Regions from separate parts of the Homo sapiens genome. Here all the other regions are linked to region 1. The links are contacts of gene promoters, found by promoter capture Hi-C in human tissues and cell types (Jung and others, 2019). All regions are on one chromosome and are shown on one strand. Each heading gives the region's core, a stretch centred on a gene start or on the middle of the fragment in contact. The rest is flanking DNA. Distances are from core to core; before and after follow the strand shown. Region 1 holds the start of ASTN2 (astrotactin 2). Region 2 overlaps ASTN2 (astrotactin 2). Region 3 overlaps LOC105376242 (a long non-coding RNA gene). Region 4 overlaps ASTN2 (astrotactin 2).

The links. Contacts are between HindIII fragments. The study calls those that stand out against the background at their distance.
Region 2: a fragment that was not itself captured here is called in contact with the fragment with the promoter of ASTN2 in region 1 in 9 of the 25 tissues and cell types used here (H1 embryonic stem cells, adrenal gland, aorta and 6 more).
Region 3: a contact is called between a fragment that was not itself captured here and the fragment with the promoter of ASTN2 in region 1, in 1 of the 25 tissues and cell types used here (adrenal gland).
Region 4: a contact is called between a fragment that was not itself captured here and the fragment with the promoter of ASTN2 in region 1, in 8 of the 25 tissues and cell types used here (H1 embryonic stem cells, adrenal gland, bladder and 5 more).

The regions. Positions count from the first base shown.
Region 1 is chr9:117,413,726-117,417,356 of GRCh38, reverse strand. ASTN2 (astrotactin 2) reads left to right here and starts at 2,300. Exons shown (of 23, transcript NM_001365068.1): 1 at 2,300-2,860. The coding sequence starts at 2,419. The HindIII fragment of the contact is 9,596 bases long and covers 1-3,631 here.
Region 2 is chr9:117,368,255-117,371,610 of GRCh38, reverse strand. The region is part of intron 1 of ASTN2 (astrotactin 2); the gene reads left to right. Among named protein-coding and RNA genes, the nearest start is that of ASTN2, 45 kb to the left of the region's middle. The HindIII fragment of the contact is 5,052 bases long and covers 1-3,356 here.
Region 3 is chr9:117,462,361-117,465,672 of GRCh38, reverse strand. The region is part of intron 1 of LOC105376242 (a long non-coding RNA gene); the gene reads left to right. Among named protein-coding and RNA genes, the nearest start is that of ASTN2, 49 kb to the right of the region's middle. The HindIII fragment of the contact is 4,274 bases long and covers 1-3,312 here.
Region 4 is chr9:117,349,687-117,353,232 of GRCh38, reverse strand. All of the region lies in intron 1 of ASTN2 (astrotactin 2), which reads left to right. Among named protein-coding and RNA genes, the nearest start is that of ASTN2, 64 kb to the left of the region's middle. The HindIII fragment of the contact is 3,423 bases long and covers 373-3,546 here.

The DNA of each region.
Region 1 (3,631 bases), core at 1,051-3,550:
CATGTCTGCCTGCCTGCCCATTACCTGAGATATTTATGTGCCTGTCTCTTTCCGGCATCCCACCCCCTCACCCCAATCATTATAAGCTTTCCAAAGGCAGGAGTTGTGTTTATCCATCCCTGCATCTCCATATAGCACCTGGTAGGCACCCTGAATATTTGGTGATGAATGAATGAATGAATGAAAGTGTTGGTCTCATTTGACAGGCCTTTGTACTAGAGGTCCATGAAGGACTTGCACAGACTCTGCCTTACATAAGGGAGCCCTTTTTTCCTGGTGTGCTCTTCTGTAAATGGACTATGTCAGCATATTTGAAGAAAGGGGCATAGAGAATCAGAAAGCCCCATTGCGGTGGATAGTGGCGGATTGTAAGGACACAAAGGAGAGACTGAGGGAGGCAGGGTGACATATTTTGGAGGAGTAAATGAACTAGAGCAGGCATCAGAGAGGCAGGAGACCATTTAGAATTAGAGGACTTGAAAGGCCAGATTCCACCCCAACCTCCACACATCCTTTGGGTTCACAGATTAGTAAACTGAGACAGGAGAAGTATACCTTACAAACCTCACAGGGAAGTAGATCCAACTGTGCTTATGCAGATTTACCTTTTACAGCATCTTTGATGGGTGGGGTTTTCCAAGGTCACTGAGGACAGTGTAATTTAAGGGAAACAGTCAAGGCTTGAAGCCTACTGTTCAAACCTCAGCTCTTCAGCTCATTTGCTATACGACCTTGGAAAATCCCTTCACCTCCCTGACCACCTGATCTCAGTTTCCTCACATGGAAAATGGGAATCATAATATCCATCTTTTTGGATTATGGTCATGTAAAAAAGCTAACATACGTACATGTCTAGCATTTGGAGAATGCTTTAAACACATTAAGTCCAAGGTCGCAAAACAGCTTTTGCTTTTTTCCTTATTTTCAGTGCTCTGCCTTTATCCAACGTTATTAAAAAATATATGATGAGAGAGGAGAAAAGCAATTTATATGAAGGGTTAAAGATAGAAAAGGGGAATGAGACAGAAGAGGGAAGAGCTAAGAGAAAAGTGAATGCATAGAGACAGCACAAAAGGTGCAGATGGGTAAGCTAGACAGAGATGAGAAGTTGCTCACAAATTATAGGAAAGAAGCATTTGTAAGATTAAAGTCAAGATGAGAAGGAAGGAAATGAATGGAGAGATGAAACAGAAAACAGAGACAGGGAAGATGAAGAAAAGTAGGGGAGTGGGGAAGGGGCTGCACGGCACTTGACCCATGCAGAGGTGTCCGCTCCCTGGAGGGTCTCAGGTATGTGGGTCAGAGACAGAGTCAGCCCAAGACCAAAGGGTGCTGAATCTGAGGACCTAGCTCAACTTGAGTCTAGAAAGACTGCAGGTGAAGAATTGGTGAGCACTCCCGTTCTCTGGGACTTGGGCAGAGGATCTAAAAGACCCGGGAGCCAAGGACAGACAGAATAGTAGGTCTCTACCTCACACCCTTTTCAGGAATTTCACACAGAGAGCAGAAGCAGCCAAGTAGAGCTGCTCCAAGCTGGGAGCAGGGATCCAAAATAAAAAAGCGTGAGTGGGCTGGCTTGCAGGGCGGCAGCTAGGGGGCCAGAACAGCCCGGCTTCAGTCAGTTGTGGGGTCGGCGTTAGACGGTGGAGTTCGACGCCCCTCTGTCCATTAGCAATTAGTGCTAGCACAAGGCCTGGATGGAGGGGAGAGGAAGGTTTGCGGGCAGTGGGAGAATGAATGCAGGAGTTGTGGCCAAGTGGGTGGGAAGGGGGCTCTGAGGCTACAGGAAGTTATTTCAGAGACTAGAAAAGGGTAGGAGATTGGAGAAAGGACTTGTTCTTGGGCCTGAGGGGAGACAAAGTTAAGTCTTGGCTATCCAGGGGGCTCCCTATCCCCAAGAAGGCGGGGCCTTGAGCAAGGCTGGGCCAAGGCGCGCCCCCAGGTGCAGCCTCTGGGTTGAGCCGAAGGTGGGGTGAAGCCAGGAGAACTGGGTTGAGTCAGGGGGGCTTGGGGGGGCCCGAGGGGGCCCTAAGTATTAGGAATTTGGGGAGTTTAGGGAGGGGTGTTGTGGCTAAAGAATGCTGTGAGGGCGGAATTGGGGGATCTTGGGAAAGGGGAGGGAGCCACTGGGACTTGCACGAGGCCGGGCGGAGCCTCCGAAACGCTCGGGGTCTGCGGGGGGAGCCGGAGATCGGGGACGGGCGGCTGGGCCCCGGGAGGCGGCGCGGGGGGGCGGTCCAGGGCCGATCGGGAGGCGGAGCCCGGAGCTGGGGGCTGCTGGCGAGCGGCTCTCTCCGCTCCTTAGCTCGGGCGTCCTGGTTCGCTTCGGCGTCCGCCGTCTCCGCAGCTGCCTCCTCTTCCTCCTTCGCCACCGCCGCCACCGCCGCCGCCGCCCGCAGCACCGCAGCCCCTCCCGCCATGGCCGCCGCCGGCGCCCGGCTCAGCCCCGGCCCCGGCTCGGGGCTCCGGGGGCGGCCGAGGCTCTGCTTCCACCCGGGGCCGCCGCCACTGCTGCCGCTGCTGCTGCTGTTCCTGCTCCTGCTGCCGCCGCCGCCGCTGCTGGCCGGCGCCACCGCCGCTGCCTCGCGGGAGCCCGACAGCCCGTGCCGGCTGAAGACCGTCACGGTGTCCACACTGCCCGCCCTGCGGGAGAGCGACATCGGCTGGAGCGGCGCCCGCGCCGGGGCCGGGGCTGGGACCGGGGCCGGAGCCGCCGCCGCCGCCGCGTCCCCGGGCTCTCCTGGCTCTGCCGGCACCGCCGCCGAGTCGCGCCTCCTGCTCTTTGTGCGTAACGAGCTGCCGGGGCGCATCGCGGTGCAGGACGACCTGGACAACACCGAGCTGCCCTTCTTCACCCTGGGTAAGGCTGGGCGCCGGCACGCGCTAGATCCCAAGGAACCCCGAGCCCCTGCGTCATGCCGGACGGGTGGGGGCGCCCTGGGGATCCCTGCCCGGGGCTGCCCCGAGTGGGGTTGGCAGAGGGTAGAGGAGGGGCCCAGAGGTCGCACAGGTGGTTGGAAACGAGCATGTGGGAGGAGGTCCTGGAGAGCGCGCGGCGGGAGCCTGGGGGCGTGCCAACCCTCCCGCAGTGGGAACCTGCCCCTCTGCCTCTCAGTCCCGACCTGGAGCTCTGCTTGATCCATCCCGGAAGCCGGAGACCCCATTCACTGAAGGTGCTCTGGCTAGGGGCCGGAGCATCCCAGATCCTAAGCCAGTTTCAGGTCGAGCCTCCCACTTCTCCGGGTACCGTCACTGGCCACCCGCCGTCACCGCCCCCTCGCTCTCGCCTCGGAGTTGCGGGTTCTGCCCTTCCAGATGGATTTTCATGAGAGTAGGAATGGAGTAGTTCCGTGTGGAATCGCTCAACCCGCAAAAGCGTGGCTTCCGCATGGGCTGAGTGACCTTGGCCAAGTCGCTTCCCTTCTCTGAGCCTCAGTTCTGGCCATCTGTGAAATAGGGCTGGAGAGACTTGAGTGGTTGCTGAGAACTGGGATTCCGACTCCGAGGTCTCCACGTTTAGAGCCTCCCTCTACCCCCGTTACCGCCTTCCCTTTCTACCCACCTCCAGGCAGAGAGCCGGTTTGTCCTTGCAGCTCACTCCCTGGGCTAATAATAATTACTTAAAGGCAAG
Region 2 (3,356 bases), core at 427-2,926, 45 kb after region 1:
TGAGGCACAAGGAGATTCTGAGCCTTGCTGAAGGTCACACAACTATTGGGGGGAAGATGGGATTCAAATCCACGTTATCCAGCTCCTAAGTTTGTGTTTTTAACTTCCTTGGAAACATTCCTTGGAAACATTGCTCCCCAACTGGCTGTCAGCAGGTGAAAGGACACTTTACAGGAATAGCACTACGAGAATTTGAGGCCTTGCTATTTTTGTTCAAGTTTTGCTTGGATTAGGGAGGCAAGGCAGGGAGGGATGTTACCATATTAAAAATATATAGACCCTTTTAGTTTTTATGTTGGGATGAGTTTGACTTGGAATGAAAAATCCCCAGTTGTGTGCGGAATGTCCAACTGGATTTAGTCTTGGCCTTCCCTCGGGATTGTTATGGGTATTTGATAATGTAGGGACATCCAGCTGGGTTTACTCTTGGCCCTCCCTTAGGATTGTTATGGGTATTTGATAATGTAGGGACATCCAGCTAGGTTTAGTCTTGGCCCTCTGTTGGGATTGTTTTGGGTATATGATGAAGTAGGGACATCCAGCTGGGTTTAATTTTGGCCCTTCTTTGGGACTGTTGGGGGTATTTGATAAGGTAGGGACATCCAACTGGATTTAGTCTTGGCCTTCCCTTCAGATTGTTGTGGTTATTTAATAATGTAGGGACATCCAACTGGGTTTAGTTTTTGCCCTCCCTTGGGATTGTTGGGGGCATTTGATAATGTAGAATTTAAGCTTAGGCCAGGAGTTGTGGCTCATGCCTGTATCCCAGCTACTTAGGAGGCAGAGGTGGGAGGATGACTTGATCTCAGGAGTGTGAGGCTGCATTGAGAGAGCTATGATTTCATCACTGCACTCCAGCCTGGCCAACAGAGCAAGACTCTGTCTCTAGGGGGAAAAAAAAGAGTTTGACATGTGGGGGTTAAAGGAACCTGAATTTAATTTCTGGACACTTATTAGCTGCCTGATCTTAAGCAGATTACTTAATTACTCTGACTCATTTTCTTGTTTATATTTAATAAAATAGGAGCTATAATAGTACCTACTTTAAAAAGGTTTTGTGAGTATCAGATGACTGAATTAGGTAAAGTGCTTTCTAAACTGTAACATGTTCTTTGGAAGATTGAAGAAGGCTAGAACATGGATGACATTTTTGGCCATCTATTTCTTTTTCAGATACTTCTTTCTCCCAGTACCACCCTGAGGACTCAACAACAGCTTAGAGGCCGTGTGCCTTTGGTGTTCACCGAGGCATTGCTGGGCCAGGGAGAAACAGGGTGATTGATTTGTTTTCCATTGACTGTGCATGATGAAAAGTTGCTTTTGTTTTTTGTTGTTTTTTCCCTTTTCTTCTTTTGTCCTGGGAATTATATTTTTCGTTGAGTGTTGTTAATGGAAAGCACTGAACCAAATTCCCTCAAATTGAATTTGGCTGTCTGAATTGTCTGTTCTCCATCTTCTCTTTCCCCGCCCTCATCTACCTCAAAGGAGGAGCCTTCACATTTATATTCATAATCATTCATGGGCTTCCAAGTGGGGTTAATAGAAGGGTGGCAGTGTGGAGGGAGGTGGGTAATATACCTGGACTTAGGGCCAACCTGTAGCTTCCCGCTCATCGCTTGTTAACTAGCGTGCCATGACAAATATGAATTTTTTTTTAATGTAATAAAGAGGCAACCTGGGCCTGTGGAATCCCCAAAAGACCAGAAGTTAGAAGGGTGTGGATGGGGTTCCTCCTCTAATGCTTAACAGTGTGTGCCCTTAGGGAAATCAATTCTCTTGTTAAAGCCTCTGCATCCCAGTTTATTAACAGGAAAAGTACCAAATGATCTTCCTGCCTCAGTAGAAGAACCTATAAGACTTCACTCACTTACTCATGTGTTCATTTATTCTTTTAGCAAGTATTCATCAAGTGCCTACAGTGTCCCAGGGACTGTGCTTGGTAGTGAGATTATGACTCTGAACAGGATATAGTTTCTGCCTTCAAAGAGTGTTTAGTCTAAAAGAATGACAGATAATAGATAGTAGACAGATGACTTTAAGATCATATAATATGTCATACTTAAAGCAAAAATGGCCTGGATTGTGGGGTCAGGCAGGCAGGGTCTATATGATCTTGGGCAGGCTATTTGACCTGTAGGAGCCTCAGTTTTCTACCATATGAAATGGGTATTGCAACCTCCTTGCAGGGTTATCGTAAAGAGTAGAGATACTGTGTTTGCTGTTCACTGAATGGTGCCTGGCCCCTGAAAAGCACACAATAAATGGTAGCTATTATTATTAATAATGATAATATTAAAAATAGATGGAAAAGCACTTTTAAGCTACAAAACCTACCCAAATATAATGAATCATTATAATCATGTTACATGGAGGCTTATTTCCCAAGAGGTTCCAAGAGCAATCAGGATCACTGGTGCCTAGAAAAAGAAAATAATATAATTAACAACAAGTAGAAGAGCTTTGCATTTGAATAGCACTCTTCCAGGTTTAACAAATAGCCATGATGGGGAAAAACACTTAGAGAATTTGTTAATCCAGGCTGGCCTGTGCTTTTGTTGGCAAGTATTATCTTGTGTTTGTTGTAAGATTTTCTATCTTCATTAGCAACACTTTAGTTTCCCTTAAGTAAATGATGATTTAGATCAATTTACCCCGTTTTACTTGACCTAAGTTCAAGCAGAACTATTCTGTGCCAACACCTGCAATCAAGGTTCAGGGCGTTCCTTAAGCTTATAAATGATTGTTCTTCATACTGTGTTAAAGGCACAGTAATCCTTTGTCAGTGGGGACTTGGCCAACTGTGGCTTTGTGATAATGGGATTTTTATATTTATAAACCAACATGTTAAAAATGTATGTTATTTTTATATATGAGTTTTTCAGATCAGTTCTTCTAAACAGCACATGACAATTGTTATTCTGGTCCCCTGGAAACTAAGGGAGTTCTGACGAATAGTATAGAAAAAAAGAAAGTTGTTTACCTTCACCTTTCAGTACAAGATTAGGATACTGTCTCTCACCCCTGTGTGTTAACTCAATGATAATGGAAAAACTCACCTGTTACACACATTGCAAAAATTAAGAAGGGAGATGGAAAGTATAATTCTATGCTTATCCTACTCAAACACAGCAGATTCGTTTGTTCTTTAAACTTTAAAATTAGATACAGATTTTGTAATGGAAAATGGGTATGATCATTTTCTTCAATTTCAATACCATGGCAATGTTTCTGGAACATTCTTTTTGTGTTTTTGTTCCAATGGATAACTTCTTTTGTTTGTATTGAGTATAAGATTAAATTGTGAATGTGTGTGTGTGCATGCACATGTGTGCGCATGTGCATGCACACCCACTGGT
Region 3 (3,312 bases), core at 747-3,246, 49 kb before region 1:
TCTTTTCTATGGTGGCTGTGCTCAGAAGCTACCTGCTCCTGCCTATCCCCAAAGCCCTGCTTCACCAAAAAGAGAAATACCAGATTAGCTACCTGCACCATCCCAGCAACCTGTCCCTTCTCCCCTCACTCCTCACCCCTTTTCCCAGACCCTGGTCTCTCTTTTCAGCACCCAGGAGACCAGTGTCCCTGGGCCATTTCTGCCTGTCTTCCAGGACAGTAGTCCTGGCAGAGGCAGAAGAAGGGTCAGATGGCAGAGCTGCTGGGCTGGGCTCCCACAAGCTGTGTCCTAGTTTTCCAGGGTAAGCTGTCAAGAGTTGCCTCATTGCAGTCCCCATTTCCCTCTCCCTAAATCCCTTTTCTGAGTCTGAAGAAATGGCATTGCCAGCCTCAGGAAAAGCCTCTTGCCCAGGGAAAGCCAGGTCTGAGAAGCTGCCATCAGACCCCATTGTCTATGTCCTGGGACAACTGCCAAGGCCCAGGCATCTTGGCTAGGGATGTAGAAGGGCCCTATTCTGATCCCATCTGTTCAGAGTTGGGGAGAGAAGCCAGATCTCCTCCCCCTTTCCTCTCCCCTCAATCCCAAGCTCTGTGGATGAGTAGCTTTTCAGAGATGAAAAACCAGAGCCCTGTCAAACAAGTCATCTTGCTTGACAAAGATAGAATCTAAATATAGAAAGGTACAGCTAAACTCCACCGCAGAGCAAGCAAACCCAATCTGGCACACAGCTTTTGGGGGTTTCCTCTCCTACTATGGCCCCTAGCCCTGTGCCCAGGACATAGTGAAGGGTCAGTAAATGTTTGGCTACATTGATCTGCAGAATCCTCACTAACACCCCTCCAGCACAAGCACAGGTCTGTTGAACAAACATCCCCATAGAACCCAACGGATCTGCCCTAAAGCCCAAAGAGCCTTGGCCCCTCACCTATTGGGAACATCTTTCCAAAAATACCACCACTTTCAAAGGAACTCCCCTGAGAATGGGGGTGGAAGTCTAATGCATATATTTTGCTCTGCTATGTGTGAAGCATGGTATATCCACTACTTTATTCAGCCTTTGCCATTGCAAGGATAGAATTATCCCCCTTTTATAGATATGAACACTGAGTCTAAAAGATTAATGGATTCGTCCAATGCCACCTTGCTGGAAAACTCAGGCCCTTCTCCCCTGTTCCAGAGAACCCAATGTCATGATGGAGGGATTCATGCTGCTTGACCCCATCGATGGCCGTGGCTTCCCATAATTGTTCATCTCAGGATCTCCAGGGCCCTCTTTTTGTTTAATTAAGATTAATGGAATCATATTTCTTGGAGCCAAAAAAAAATCTTATAGGGAGCATCAAAGTGAGCTTCCTGTTCTCAAAGTGGTAACAGGCTACTCCAATGGCACATCAATGTCCTAGGGTTGCCATAAGAAATTAGCACATACTTAGTGGCTTAAAATAACACAAATTTATTCTGTCATAGATGTAGGGATTACAAGTCTGATATCAAGTTGTTGGCATGGCCATGCTCCCGCCAAGGTCTCTGGAAAAAAATTCCCCTTTGCCTCTTCCTACTTCTGGTGGTTACCAGCAATTTTTGGCATTCCTTGGCTTGTAGCTGTGTCACTTCAATTTATGCTTGTGTCTTCACATGGCTGTCTTCTCTCTGTGTGTGTCTGTGTCTTTTTCTCTGAATCCGCCTCTCCTTTCACTTATAAAAATCCTGGTCATTGAATTTAGGGTCTACCCTGATGCAGTATGACCTCATCTTTATTTGATTATTTCTACAACACCCTATACCAAGTAATACCAAGTAAGATCACATTCTAATGTTCAGGGTATACACGAATTTTGGGGGGACATTATTCAATTTTGGGGGGACACTATTCAGCCCAGCACAGATGGTATAACATGGTGCCAAGGGAAGCGTACTCAGAAGTTCAACTGTCTGGGACTTTAATCCCGATCTGCAACTTGCTCACTGTGTGACCCAGAAAATCTCGTAACTTCTCTAAATCTCAGTTTTCTCTTCTGTAAGATAGGGATAATAATAGTACATACTTCAGAGGCTAGTTGGCAGGAGTCACTAAGTTAATCCATGCACAGTGTTCAGCCCAGTGCCTGGCACACAGTGGGTGCTCAAACAACAGCTTCTCTCCCTGCATGTTGGTCATTAGGGTCACAGGCTCTGAAGTCAGGCTCCTAGGGTAATATCCTGTCCCTATCACTTTCAATTGTAGGAAGATGGGCAAATTACATACCCCCATAAGCTTTAATTTTCTTACTATAAAACAGAGATAATAATTGTATCTACCTTATGGGTTATTGCAAGCAGCACATACAGTCACCCAAATAAAGTATATAAGAGTATCTTGTAAGTTCCCAGTAAGTGCTCACTCCTATGATATTGATGTTCCCCATTTGAATTCCTGTGGTATTATGCAATCATCTGTGCAATAGGAACCGGATTAGCAGAGGGTCCTGGGATTCTGGCAGAAAAAGACCAGAGCTTAGTGGCCCATCAGAAATTGGCTTTTCCCCAGAAGAGAGGGAACCACAGGGCCTGAGGTACTGAGGCTAGGCTTGTCTGTTTTGGGCAGTGGTCCAAGAGGCTAAAGCCCTCTCCTTTGGGGCTGGCTCATACCCAGTGAATTCATGGGAAATCTACGGGCATGCTGAAGCGTCTAGGCTAAGCACCACATGTACACACACTCCCACCAGTCTCCAGCTGCCAGATGAAGGTGACCTAGGAGATCAGGGTTGGAGGATGGCTGGGGACCCAGGGGTGGAAAAGCAGCATGAGCTCATTAGTAACTGACTGTTCCGGTGGAACAAAACCTCTCCTAGGGGCCATAACTCTGTCCCTGGAAGAAAGCATGATGAGAGGGAGGTGGCTGGGACTCCTGCAGCCTGTATCTGGGGCTGCGCAGTGGAAGCAAAGCTGAGTCCCCGCCTTCTTTAAATCCCCAGCATTTCCATGGAAAGAGACAAGTTGCTGCGTGAAAAAAGAAGGAGTTGGGGGAATTTGAAAGGAAGCTGAAAAGCTGGCGACAGGGCTTCCATTACGTAGACAGTCATCCTGACATGGTACCTGAACAAATCCCATCAAGGACAGATTCTCAGTCTTGAAGAGGCAGCACAGTAAAGGGGAAAGATCATGAGTTTTGGGGCCAGGTTCCCTTGGATATTGTGGGGTCCCCACACTTCTGGATGATGTTGGATAACTCTTTGAGACTTAGGCTTCACATCTGTAAAATGGAAATACTTATTTTTCAGAGTTGTCATAAACACTAAATGATTTGACTTATATCAACCTAATTCCTACTGG
Region 4 (3,546 bases), core at 835-3,334, 64 kb after region 1:
TGCTGTTGAAACATTTATTAGTGCTGTGATTTTTTTTTTACTGTGGTAAAATATATGTAACATACAATTTGCCATTTTAACCATTTTTAAGTGTACAATTTAGCAGCATTAATTACATTCATAGTGTGGTGCAACCATCAACACCATGTATTTCCAACACTTTTTCATGACCCCAAATAAAAACTCTCTGCAATCATTAAGCAATAACTCCCCATTCCATGCACCTCCCAACCCTGATAACTTCTCATCTATTTTCGGTCCTTATGAATTTATCCATTCAAGATGTTTCATGTAAGTGAAGTCACTTACTCCATCTTTTTGTATCTGGCTTCTATCACTTAGCCTAGTGTCTTAAAGCTTCATCCATGATGAGGCATATGTCAAAGCTTCATTCTTTTTTATGGCTAAATGGTATTCCATTGTATGTGTATATTACATTTTATTTATCCATTCATCTGTTGATGGACACTTGGGTTGTCTTTACCTTTTGGCCGAGCGATGAAATTTTGAACAATTTGCTTAGTTTCTCTGAGTTTCTTTTCAATAAAATGGATATCTTAATCCTTAAATTCTAGAATTATTGGATAAACTAGAAGAAACACTAAAGATAAAGTGCTTGGGATGGCTTTCCCAGTTCAGTAGTTGGTAATTCTCCTACCACTCTTTGTCCACTTCTGTCTACTATCCCTTGGTGCCTCAATCCCTGTGCATTGGAAGCTCAACAACTGTTGGCCAATTGTGGATTCTTTCTGGTCTCATTAGCTCAGCTCTGATTCTTGGACTGTAAAATGTGAGGAGAATATTTTGTTTGACCTCTGTGTGTTTAATGTGTAGGAGGTTCCAGGTTGGTGGAGATAATATCTCTCAAGTGTCACAAGTTTTGGGATGCAGATGGTGGCCCATGTTCCTCATTAAACTAATAATTGCTCTCAGGGAAAGTACAGCGGAAATCAGTACTTGACATTTTAAAGGTAGATGAAGTCATAAGAAGATTATGACTTGGCCTTGAATAGCGTTTCTTGGGCCAGATTAGAAATTCTCATGAGAGAGTAATTGTTTTCTGGGGTCTGACCTGTGTTCTCCTCAGCCCAGGGCTGAAGACACAGCCTGTGAGATTCAAGGGACTGTTTCTCTCTGATAAAGGTATATTGAGAAGTCCAGGTTTTCCTCCTCAAAATGGACTCAAATGTTGGGAAATCTTCACAGTTGATTCAATTAAAAAGATATTAATAGTAAGCGGTGTTTACTTAGGACATTTTTATCTGTATCCCAGGGGCTTAGACGATGAGGACATTTAATAAACTCACGTGACTAAAAGCTTTGGTGATAGGTGACTTTGCAGCTCCAGATGTCAGTGTGCAGGACTAGAATCTCTCTGGTTGTCTTGGCCTTCTCTTTGGGGCTCCAAGATGGCTATAGCACCCCCCATCCAAATTAATGAACTAATATAGCATCTAAAGCACACATGAAGAAAAGGGGCAGAAAACAGAGCTTTCCCTGTGAACTTTTTCCTTTATTACAACAAAACCTTTCCAGAAGTGCCTCCAAAGATTCCACCTCATAACTCATTAACCAAAAGGTTATGATTGGCCACCTATATATGCAGAGAAGCCTTTTCATTTTGTATAGAGAGAAATTTGAAAATTGTAGAGACTTGAAGGGAGAAACAGTTTTTATTGTTTGTGTAGTCAGGCAAGGTTTCCTGGGGGCAGTGATATATGCATGAAGTATTGAATGGTAGTGTAGGATTTTGACTCAAGTAAAGGCAGCTTAGGCCGAGAAAACAGCTTAGCATAAGCATGAGATTTGGGAATTCAGATTTTTTTTGTTTTGTTTCAGTTTTTAAAAGATGTGGTATTGGAATACTTGTGGTAAAATGCAATAAGAAAGGAAGAAGTGAAATACAAAAAGTTTCTCGAAAGTTATAATAGACCTTGAGCGCCATGCTTAGACGTTTGAATTTTGCTCTGGAGACACTGGGTAGGTATTAAGGTTTTTGAGCTGGGATTGCCGTATTCTCTTTTCCTTAATCCTACCAATTCTTTATAGCTTAGATTTGCCATCATGGATGTATCTTAAGTTTTTTGTTACTTCATTTCTCAGTTGCTCCCAGTTGCCCATATCTTTTCCTAAATGCTCTGTCATGCGCTTCTGTTAAAGAGAGTAGCAGTGTAGACGTTGAGGGTGCAAGGAGAGCAAGCAGGCTTCCACCTTCAGTCTCTCAAGTAAAAACATATAAAGCAATCCCCTTTTCACCTATCCACCATGCAACATGGCGGTCGTGCCAAAGCAGGGTCCCCTAGGATGGCTTAATTGTGATTTAACGTGCTGTTATCTCCACTTTGTGACTTGAGTACTGAACATAACTTGCTGCATGTCTTTCCCAGCTCACCGAACTTCTAGACATTTTGTTCATATATGACAAGCTTTCTCTGCTCTAAATGCTTTGCTAACTTGCTAACATTCTTAGCCTAACGTAGAAGATTCTTTACAGTATTGTCTTCATTTCCCAGCCTCATTCCCCACTGCCCAGCGTGCTCTGCCATCATATCAAATACACAAAGTGCTCTGAGCACATTTTCTCTCATTCTGGACCTATGTTTCCCTCTGACTACACTGTCTCTGATTTTTCTTTTCTTTTCTTTTTTCTTTTCTTTTCTTTCTTTCCTTTTTTTTTTTAAGATGGAGTCTCGTTCTGTTGCCCAGGCTGAAGCGTAGTAGCACAATCTCAGCTCACTGCAACCACCACCCCCCTATCAGCTTCAAGCAATTTTCCTGCCTCAGCCTCCCAAGTAGCTGGGATTACAGGTGCCCACGACCACGCTTGGCTAATTTTTTGTATTTTTAATAGAGACGGGGTTTTACCATATTGGCCAGGCTGGTCTCAAACTCCTGACCTCAAGAAATCCACCCACCTCGGCCTCCCAAAGTGCTGAGATTACAGGCCTGAGCCACTGTGCCAGCCTTGTTTTTTATTTCTCTATTCTCCAAACCTTTCTTGCAGGAGTAATTAATCTCTCAGAACCCTTCTGTAGTACTATATCTTTTTTCTTAGACTTTTAATTTTGGAAATGTTTTAGATTTATAGAAAATTGGCACAGATTATACAGAGACTTTCTATATACCACTTACCCAGCTTCCCCTAATGTTACCATCTTACATTATCATGGTACATGTGTCAAAACTAAGAAATCAACATTTGTATGTTGCTGTTAACTATACTATAGACTTTATTCAGATTTTACTCGGTTTCCACCAATGTCCTTTTTTTTGTCCCAGTGTTCAATCTGTGTTGCATTTAATCCTTATGTCTACTTGCTTTCCTCTGTTATGTGACAGTCTCTCAGGTTTTCCTTTAAAAATTATCTTAACAGTTATGAAAAGCACTGGCCAGAGGTGAAGTCCCTTTGTTATCATATTGTATCATATCATATCAGGGAGTCTCTGATATCATCCTGACTTATTGCTGATGTTAGTCTTCATCATTTATTTGGGGCAGTGTCCATTGGGTTTTTCCACTGCAAGACAATTATTTTTCCCTTTACT